2 separate regions of the Homo sapiens genome follow, and region 2 is linked to region 1. Evidence: promoter capture Hi-C in human tissues and cell types (Jung and others, 2019). All regions are on one chromosome and are shown on one strand. The core of a region is centred on a gene start or on the middle of the fragment in contact, and the rest is flanking DNA. Distances in the headings are between cores, read along the strand shown.

What was found. The method cuts DNA at HindIII sites, captures the fragments that hold promoters and counts their contacts. A contact is called where the count stands out against the background at its distance.
Region 2: a contact is called between a fragment that was not itself captured here and the fragment with the promoter of CNBP in region 1, in 1 of the 25 tissues and cell types used here (aorta).

Annotation. Positions count from the first base shown.
Region 1 is chr3:129,180,609-129,187,261 of GRCh38, forward strand. CNBP (CCHC-type zinc finger nucleic acid binding protein) reads right to left here and starts at 3,288. Exons shown (of 5, transcript NM_003418.5): 1 at 3,168-3,288. LOC105374101 (a long non-coding RNA gene) reads left to right here and starts at 3,466. Exons shown (of 2, transcript XR_924469.3): 1 at 3,466-3,864. RefSeq lists an enhancer at 3,622-3,711. The HindIII fragment of the contact is 21,375 bases long and covers 1-6,653 here.
Region 2 is chr3:129,433,487-129,436,186 of GRCh38, forward strand. It overlaps MBD4 (methyl-CpG binding domain 4, DNA glycosylase), which reads right to left. Exons shown (of 8, transcript NM_001276270.2): 4 at 576-650; 5 at 364-498. Among named protein-coding and RNA genes, the nearest start is that of MBD4, 5.1 kb to the right of the region's middle. The HindIII fragment of the contact is 4,141 bases long and covers 1-2,700 here.

The sequences.
Region 1 (6,653 bases), core at 2,038-4,537:
TGCTGCAGCATCTGACACTGCCAGAACAGGAGTTCTATTAAGTGAGACAGTAAGGAAAGAGCGTTCTCCACATAGCAGGCCAGGATGCCTTGGCATCATTCTTCTGGCTCTCTACTTACTGTCAGGAGGCTAGGAAGAGAAAAAGGAACCAATCTTTTTTTTTTTTTTTAATTTTTCATCCCTGCAAGGAAAAAAAAGCAGAATCTCTCTGTGGTCAAATCTTCAGCCAATAGACAAATCATTCCAATTAGTCCAATGGTGGTTTCACTGCTTTTAGGCACCAGTTTGGTACTATCCCATATACGTGCCACATATTTTTATTGAACTTTAAAAGACAAGTAGAATTGTTGGCAAGGCACGGTGGCTCAGGCCTGTAATCCCAGCACTTTGGGAGGCCGAGGCGGGTGAATTACCTGAGGTCAGGAGATCAAGACCAGCCTGGCCAACATGGTGAAACCCCGTCTCTACAAAAAATACAAAAATTAGCCGGGCGTGGTGGCACACGCCTGTAATCCCAGCTACTTGGGAGGCTGAGGCAGGAGAATTGCTTGAGCCCGGGAGATGGAGGCTGCTGTGAGCCGAGACTGTGCCACTGCATTCCAGCCTGGCCGACAGAGAAAGACTCTGTCTCAAAAAAAAAAAAAAAAAAAAAAAAAAAGACAAGTAGAATTGTCATAAATCATGTAACAAAACACATTTATACTTTAAAAAAGACATCTCCCTGCCTGTTCCAGATGTTCAAATGCCAGTTTAAGAAAAACCTGGCCAGGCGCGGTGGCTCCTGCCTGTAATCCTAGCACTTTGAGAGGCCGAGGGAGTCGGATCACAAGGTCAGGAGTTCGAGACCAGCCTGGCCAACATGGTGAAACCCCGTCTGTACTAAAATACAAAAACTAGCTGGGTGTGGCGGCGGGCGCCTGTAATCCCAGCTACTTCGGAGGCTGAGGCAGGAGAATCGCTTAATCCGGGAGGCGGAGGTCGCAGTGAGCCGAGATCGCGCCACTGCACTCCAGCTTGGGCGACAGAGTGAGACTCCGTCTCAGAAAAAAAAAAAGAAAAACCCCTGGTCTTCCACTGATTTGGTTCAAAATATTTTACAGACTGCACCATCTGAAATACATTACCTCTCCTGTTACCAATATGAAAAAAAAGAGGACCTTTGGTTCCTCAGAAAAACACAAACTGTTATTTTTTTAAAGAAAAACTTATCAAGAGATGAAATCGGAAAAACTTAAGTCTTTAATTCTGCCCTTGGGAATGTAATAAATTATTCCTTTTATATTCCAATACACAAAGAACTCTTGTAGACAAGAATCAGGCTCAACAAACTAAAAACAGCATGTACCTAGGATCCTGGCAGTTTACAGGTGTTTGATTATCCTTAACCAGAGTAACTCATTAGAAGCATTTAAAACTATTTAGGAGGGGGGAGGGGGAAGCCCAGGAGATAAGTACTATATCTCTTATCTTTTTGAAACCCTCAAAGCTCTACACTCCAGTTATACTGCTTGAACAAACAAATAACATAAAATTGCTAATTTAAATTCGAATGGAAATAGTAACTGGTTACGTTTCACTCCAAAATTGGGTCAAACAATAGGAAAGGGGGAAAAATCTACTTTTAAAAATGTAATTTAAAAGCAAGATGGGGATATTCATTAGACCTCCTTCACTTTGAGAAAGACAAAAAACAAATTCAGTTTTGGCTTATCTCACCTGAGTCCTTCTGAATAATGCCTGAAACACACTAGCTAAAATCACAGACGATTACTGAGCAATGTTCTCTTTTTACAAGACCCCCAAGACCAGAAACAGTCACTTCCTTTGGAAGTGCCCTGTGGCTGAGGCCATATGGTTAACATGTGGGAACAAGCACAAGCCTTACCCATAATAAAATCAACACCTAAACCCAAATGTGGACCATTATGCCATTCTAAAACAGGTTCTCACGATATGGAAAAATCTAGATGGAGGGGAGCTAGTTGAATTTCGTGTCTCGTTTGTAATTACATCTGTTTCATTAATCCAAGAAATGATGCAGACTACCGCCCGCTGCTGTGGTTTTGGAGGTTTGACAAATTCGTGTTTTTTCTGGTAATGGCGCTTTTAAAGGATCCCAGCAACTTAAATAGTGTTAACTCTTGGAATGTGAGCCCCATCAGCCCCTTTTGGAATGGTAATGTAACACAAGCAACTTAGTATTTAAATGACGATAAAAATTCAAGAATCGGAAAACTATCAAGGATAGGGAGTATAAACTCTAAAAGCTCCCAAGTCTTCCAGCAGTCTCGCCACTCCAAACACAAAGGCTTCTTCAGGAACCCTTTGTTGTTGTTTGTTTGTTTGTTTGTTTGTTTTTTTAAGACGGAGTCTCTCTCTGTTGCCCATGCTGGAGTGTAGTGGCGCGATCTCGGCTCACCACAACCTCGGCCTCCGGGGTTCACGCGATTCTCCTGTCCAGCCTCCCGAGCTGCTGGGACTACATGCGCCCGCCACCATGCCCGGCTAATTTTTTATTTTTAGTACAGACCAACTTTCACCATATTGGTCAGGCTGGTCTCGAACTCCTGACCTCGTGATCCGCCCGCCTGGGACTCTCAAAGTGCTGGGATTACAGGCGTGAGCCACCGCGCCCGGCCTAAGAACCCTTTTCTAAGGCCCCCAAAACCCTTGGCACATGGCCCGCCAGGCGCACGACCCCAGCACATGGCCTGCACGACTATACCCACCCCATCCCCCCTTCATCCGCAGCCGGGAGCCTTTCCCCACCACACGGACTCCTTCCAGTGAGTTCCCGCCAAATCCACCCTCGGTCCCTCATTCCGCGACCCTCGAAGCGTCAGGGCCTCGGCCCCAAGGGCGCACGGGCGGGCCTCCTCTGCCCTAAGCCTGCGGCCTGGGGTGCGGCCGTGGCGCCGAAAGACCCGCATGCTCGGCGACCCAGCTTTCCAGGACGAAGAAAGGACAGAAGTGTCGTCCGACAGCGGTGCGCCAGAAACCCGGGTCCGAGGCGGCGGCAGCAGCCGAGCTTCCCGCCTGACGCAGCAGAGGCGCAGGCCAAAGTGCGGCCGCCATCGCCACCTCGCCGCTCCCTACCCTCTCTGTCCGCCACAGACCCGACCCGCACTGCGGCTCCGTCAGCGCCGGGCCCCTCCCCCAGCCCTCACCTTCCGCGTCGGAGCGGGCCCGCAGCGGCGGAGACTCGGACGCAGGCCTGGGGAAGACGGCTCGCAAGGTAGAGGCTGTTTATTTTGAGGGTCCTTGCCTGCGCCACACGCGGGTCTGCACACGGCCCCACATACGCCGCTGCGCACGGCTCTCCTCCGCCTCGCCCACGCGGCCAATCAGCGCGCGGGGTTCGGCAGTCCAATCAGAGCCGCCCGCGGCAGGGCCGCCCACTAGAGCGCGGCGCGGGGCGGGTGTTTCTGCGCGCAGCGTCTTTTCCCGCCGTGCCCCGCGCGCGGCCTTTCACGCCGGGATCCGGGTCCCGGTGCTTCTCGGTTCATTCCCAGCTGGGTCCGGGCCCGGCCAGACTGGGTGGAAATCTGGCTGACCTTGGTGGTCTGTCTTGGCCAGCTGGAGCAAAGGGATGCCAGGGGACGGGTCTCGGTGCAGTGACTGCCATTAGCTTGGGGCCGCAGAAAGTTTCTCCCCTTTCTCGGGCTCCTGCCAGGCCCTTGGCTTTCAGAGCCAGGCCCGATTTCTAGATAACATTTAAGTTTGCAGAAAAGGGGATGCCAAGTCACGGTGGTCACGGCTGTGGGATGCAGCCTCTGAGATTTGTATTAATTTTTGTGAGCCGGGGAAAGGCCTTGCTGCTTTCTCCGCCAGGACTGATGTGTCTTCCCAAGATGAAAGTGCCTGGTAAGGGCGAGGGGCCTCCCTGGGAAGGTCATGAGCATGTAAGGTAATGGGGCCTAGACTGTGACTTTTGGCACGTTTATGAGTGACATCCCCCGGGAGGGCAAGGATAACCATTTGACCTGGTCTGTCATATTCAGGAATAGACTTCAGTTTAGTTGTGGTATTTTCTCCAAAAGAGATTTGTGTATATAGCCCTAGATAGTCTTGTCAAGATTAAACCCAATTTAAACTGTTAACTATAAAATATTTTAGAATTTTGTCTCATTCTAGAATGGCTTTATTCGAAACAAAAAAAAAGGAAGAGTCCCAAGTTTCGTCTCAGTGAAACCTGCCAGTTCAACACTATGATTTATTTTTCTTTTTTTCTTTAATTTTTTTTTTTTTTAAGAGTAGGGTCTTGCTCTGTCGCTGGGTTTACAGGCATAAGCCACCAATCCCAAATCCCGGGGCTATGATTTTTGAAATCATGTTCGTGAGAAGGCAGAGCACATGTGTTGAGAGTCAGACTTTAAACCTGGGTTCAAATCATTAGTGCTTAATCATTGTAAAGCAGTTAGGAGGTTGCGTTCAACATAGCAATTATCAAAGAATGAATGTATAACTTTAAAGACCAATGATATTTTAAACTTTTTTTTTTTTTTGAGAACGGAGTCTCACTCCGTTGCCCAGGCTGGAGTGCAATGGCACGATCTCAGCTCACTGCAACCTCCGCCTCCTGGATTCAAGTGATTCTCCTGCCTCAGCCTCCCCAGTAGCTGGGATTATAGGCATGCGCCACCACGCCCGGCTAATTTTGTATTTTTAGTATAGGCGGGGTTTCTCCATGTTGGTCAGGCTGGTCTCAAACTCCCGACCTCAGGTGATCCGCCCACCCAAAGTGGTGATCGTCCTCCCAAAGCACTGGGATTACAGGCATGAGCCACCGCGCCTGGCCGAACTTTTTAAATTTATTTATTACTATTTTTTGAGACAGGGTCTCCCTCTGTTGCCCAGGCTGGAGTGCTGTCTCAGCTCACTGCAACCTCCGCTTCCCATGTTTGACCAATTCTGCCTCAGCCTCCTGAGTAGCTGGGACTGCAGGCGCCCACCACCACGCCTGGCTAATTTTTGTATTTTTAGTAGAGATGGGGTTTCATCATGTTGGCCAGGCTGGTCTTGAACTCCTGGCCTCAAGCGGTGCTAGGCCAAAGTGCTAGGATTACAGGTGTGAGCCACTGCACCCAGTGCCCCCAAAGTGCTAGGATTACAGGTGTGAGCCACTGCACTCAGCCTTAAACATTTTTTTAATTAAAGCAACCTAAGGTAAAATTTTTTAACCAAATTTAACCCATTCCCAATCAGATTGAATAAATGCCTAGCAGCTTATGTGTTGTGCTAAAACACGATATATTATCTGCCAATAAAAAACAGTATTTTGTATTTATATAGTTTTATTACCAAGAAGCTTACTCAGCTTTATGATTTCCCCTTTGTAATCTGATTAACCTTCATAGTATCTTGAAGTAATGTATAGTGTAGCAATCAGACACTTAGGTAGTGACTTCGTGAGCTCTGACAATGAGTCAATATAATGCAAGAGGCTATGTATGAAGTCCAACCTGGGTGCGTCCACACCACACCAAGAGGACAAGTTAAAATTACCATATGGCCAAAAATTAATATTTTCTGACTTATTTTTGTTTACCATTCCAACCATAGTACTGTATAAAATGTTTGCTATTCATTATAGACCCAGGAATGGAATATTCCTAATATTAAAACAAAAATTTCAACAGCTATAGAAAATGAAAGTGAGTGTGAGATAGAGATACTGGACATAATGTTCTATAGGTTTTAAAAGACTTAAGTAGAAGAAATGGAAACAATGTCTTTACTTCTTGGCAGTGGAGTGGTAACAGCTAATGGCTCTTTCTACCTGGCATGCAGCTTCCTGTAACGACTATTATTAATAGAGCCAGGCTGATCGTGAGGCGCCAGAAAAGGTGTATGGTGGAATTTAACTACAATGGCTTGTATTGCCTGGATATACCCTTTGGTATGCCTATTTTACTAGAAATGTTTGAAAATAGGAAAAAGCTCACTCAAAAGATAAGCTGCCAGTGGGACTTGAAGAGGCTCCCATTACATTCCTCTTCCCTGGAGATGTTTTATTCCCCTCCTCTCCTCCAGTGTTCAGTCTCATGCTCAGCATTGCAAGGGTTACAAAGGTGACTACTTAAGACACAGAGTTTGCCCTTGAAGAACTTGCAGGATAACAAGGGCCATAAGAAAGTATTAAGTGTCGGCTGGGTTCGGTGGCTCACGCCTGTAATCCAGCACTTTGGGAGGCCGAGGCGGGCGGATCACGAGGTCAGCTGATCAAGACCATCCTGGCTAACACGGTGAAATCCTGTCTACTAAAAATACAAAAAATTAGCTGGTCGTGGTGGCGGGGACCTATAGTCCAAGCTACTCGAGAGGTTGAGGCAGGAGAATCGTTTGAACCTGAGAGGCAGAGCTTGCAGTGAGCCGAGATCACGCCACTGCACTCCAGCCTGGGTGACGGAGCAAGACTCAGTCTCAAAAAAAGAAAAGAAAAAAAAAACAACTTCCCAGCACTTGGGAGGCCGAGGTAGGTGGATCACCTGAGGTCAGGAGTTTGAGAGCAGCCTGGGCAACATAGTGAAAACTTGTCTCTACTAATAACACAAAAATTAGCCGAGTGTGGTGGTGGGCACCTGTAATCCCAGCTACTTGGGAAGCTGAGGCAGGAGAATCGCTTGCACCTGGGAGCAAGAGATTGGGCCACT
Region 2 (2,700 bases), core at 1-2,500, 250 kb after region 1:
AGCTTTTAAATGATCAGATCAGCAGATAATGAGAGTAGAAGCATATAGAACACAAGGTACATTCAGTGAAAAAGATACTTTTAAACACACATGAAAGAGGGTGGAGAAACGTTAACTGATTTTCACTGATGATCAAAAAGAATTTGGAAGTATAAAATAAATAAAATCTACCTCTTTATTCTAAAAGGTCTGTTGGATGTCATCCAGTCTCATTTCCTCATAGGTGAAGAGTTTAAGGGTGAAGGGGGAATGCCCTATCCCAGGTGACACACTCAAAATGGACTTTGAACCCAGGCCTCAATTCAGTGCTTTCTCCCTACCACACTGTCTCTACTAAGACAAAGATGATAATAATCCCCAAACCTGAGGTCCGATTGAGAAATATAGTAGCGATGAGAAGCTTCCATGGATCATGAAAAAGTGTTTCTTGAACGAGATTAAAAGGTGACCGAGGAGGTGTCCATTTCTTAAAGGCTTTACGTCGTGGGGGGCTAAGAGCTAAACAAACATAGTGCATCAGAATTGAAAACCCAAAATGGAATTAGAATTTGCTGTTCTGATTGGGAAAGGGATACCTTCTTTGTTATATTTGCTGGAAAAATACAGGCTTGTTTTCCTTCTTTCTATCTGTGTTCGTGGGATGGTATCTTCTGAAAAGGAAAAGTAAACACTTTATGGAGTCTATGGTTTAGCTTAAAGCAATATTGAGGGATGCAAATAATAATATCAACACTATTACAAAGCATGCCAGGCACTATTCTAAGCCCTTTACATAAATACCCAATTAATCTAACTAATGACCCATGAACTTGGTACTATTTTTATCTCCACTTTACAGATAAGGACATTGAGGCACAGAGAAGCTAAGTAACTTGCTCAAGATCACACAGATACTAAGTGTCCCAGCTAAAATTCAAATCCAGACAGTCTGGCTCCTGAGTCCTCACCTTTAACCACTCTGTGACACTAGTTCTTTATGACTTATGTTCAGAGTTTATAGTATTGAAAAATTAAAGGCAGTATGGAATATTTTAAATTACGATGCATTTGTATAATGTGGTCATTAAAGTATTTTTTAGACTATTGTGAATATTTTCCTATTAACTTCTAAATGAAAAAGCAAGAGTCTACATATGATCCCAATTTTATAAAAAAGGGGAAACATATATAAATAACAATACAGAAGTTAAGAATGAAATAAGCCAAAATGATATAATGGTTGTTGCCAAGTGCTAATTTTTCTTTCCTTCTTTACTTTTCTGTATTTTCCAAAATTTCTGCAGTGAACACTTACTTTTACGCTTACCAAAAAAAGGGATACAGACAAAACAGAATCTGCAGAAAAACCTACAATTTGAACCCTAGAACACCTGAGACAACTACCTATTGAGAACCTCTATCTATTGGGAACCAGTGTTATCAGACTTCTCAAATTTCTAAAATCACATGTAATACTCCTTAACCATACCCTCGCAATTTGAATATCAGTTAATAATACCTTGCATTTGTATAGCATCTTTTTCACTTCTCATTTTACAATATTTTTGATGTGAAAAACAGGACTAGTCAGGATGGTTACCTCTATTTTACAGATGAAGAAAGTGAAGCTTCTAAATGAAGCAATCATCCCAAAATGATACTGGGATTGACTATAAACTGGAACAAGTATCCAGGTCTCCAGATAATTAGACTACTGTTTTTTCGCTATTTTAGTTTGAGTAGGTAAAGCCCAGTAGAGAGTAAAAAAAAAAAAGAACAAAGGAAACTGCTCTGACTGCTCTGATTTGACAACTTTTTCTGTGGGCTCCTATGAATAATTACTAGTCTCCTTTATGCCAGGTTTACTTGGCAATTTCTAGCTAAGCCAATGGGTGTCTTCACTATTTCATGGACACCTCGTACTAAGAGTACTTCATCTCATGTTGAGAACTAGACTCTTACCACAAAAAAAAGTTTTTAATATTTGCCCATTTTGCTAGCAATAAATCTACATAAACCTCAAAGCTTTCTTCAAGAAGCTCAGTGTCTAGGACACAGACTTGAAGAATTCTTATGCAGTTCCTAGGTATATATGGCCATCTTGTGTTAAAGGCAGAGAAACTCCAGGCACAGAAAAGACATAAAATCATGGGTAGAACTGGGAACAAGAATCAAACCTAATCTCCTGCTTCACAAATTTCTCCAGGCTGTTTCCCCACAGGAGTTTAAGTAAAATTATTATTCTTTAAAGGAGTTATTCATTATACCATAATGGCATAATGAATAACTAATACAGGGCTGCTCAAAAGGTCTCCCTTTTATCTCTTATTCACTGAGGTATTATAAAGACAAAACTGCTAAGTTCTGAATTCTGTATTAAGAGCATATTACAAATAATAGATGAACTATGTGATTATACTTTTGAATTATTTAGAGCTCTAAAGCATTTTAGAGAAGCATTACATTAAAATAGAAGATAAAAATGACTATGATATATACAAAATTAAATTGGAAGTCACACTTAGTAGTAAGTATCAGGAGGGGTGTGAAGACACCAACTATTCTCCACTCATTTATGTATATAAGAAGCCTTCCCTAAATTTTTCACAAGTGAAGGCTTTTAATTTTCCTTCAAGTTTTAAGATTACTGGCTGGAAAGAGGATGGGAAGAAGGGAAAGCACTGCTGAGGAGGAGAGTCCCAGCTGCTGCACCAGGGAGAG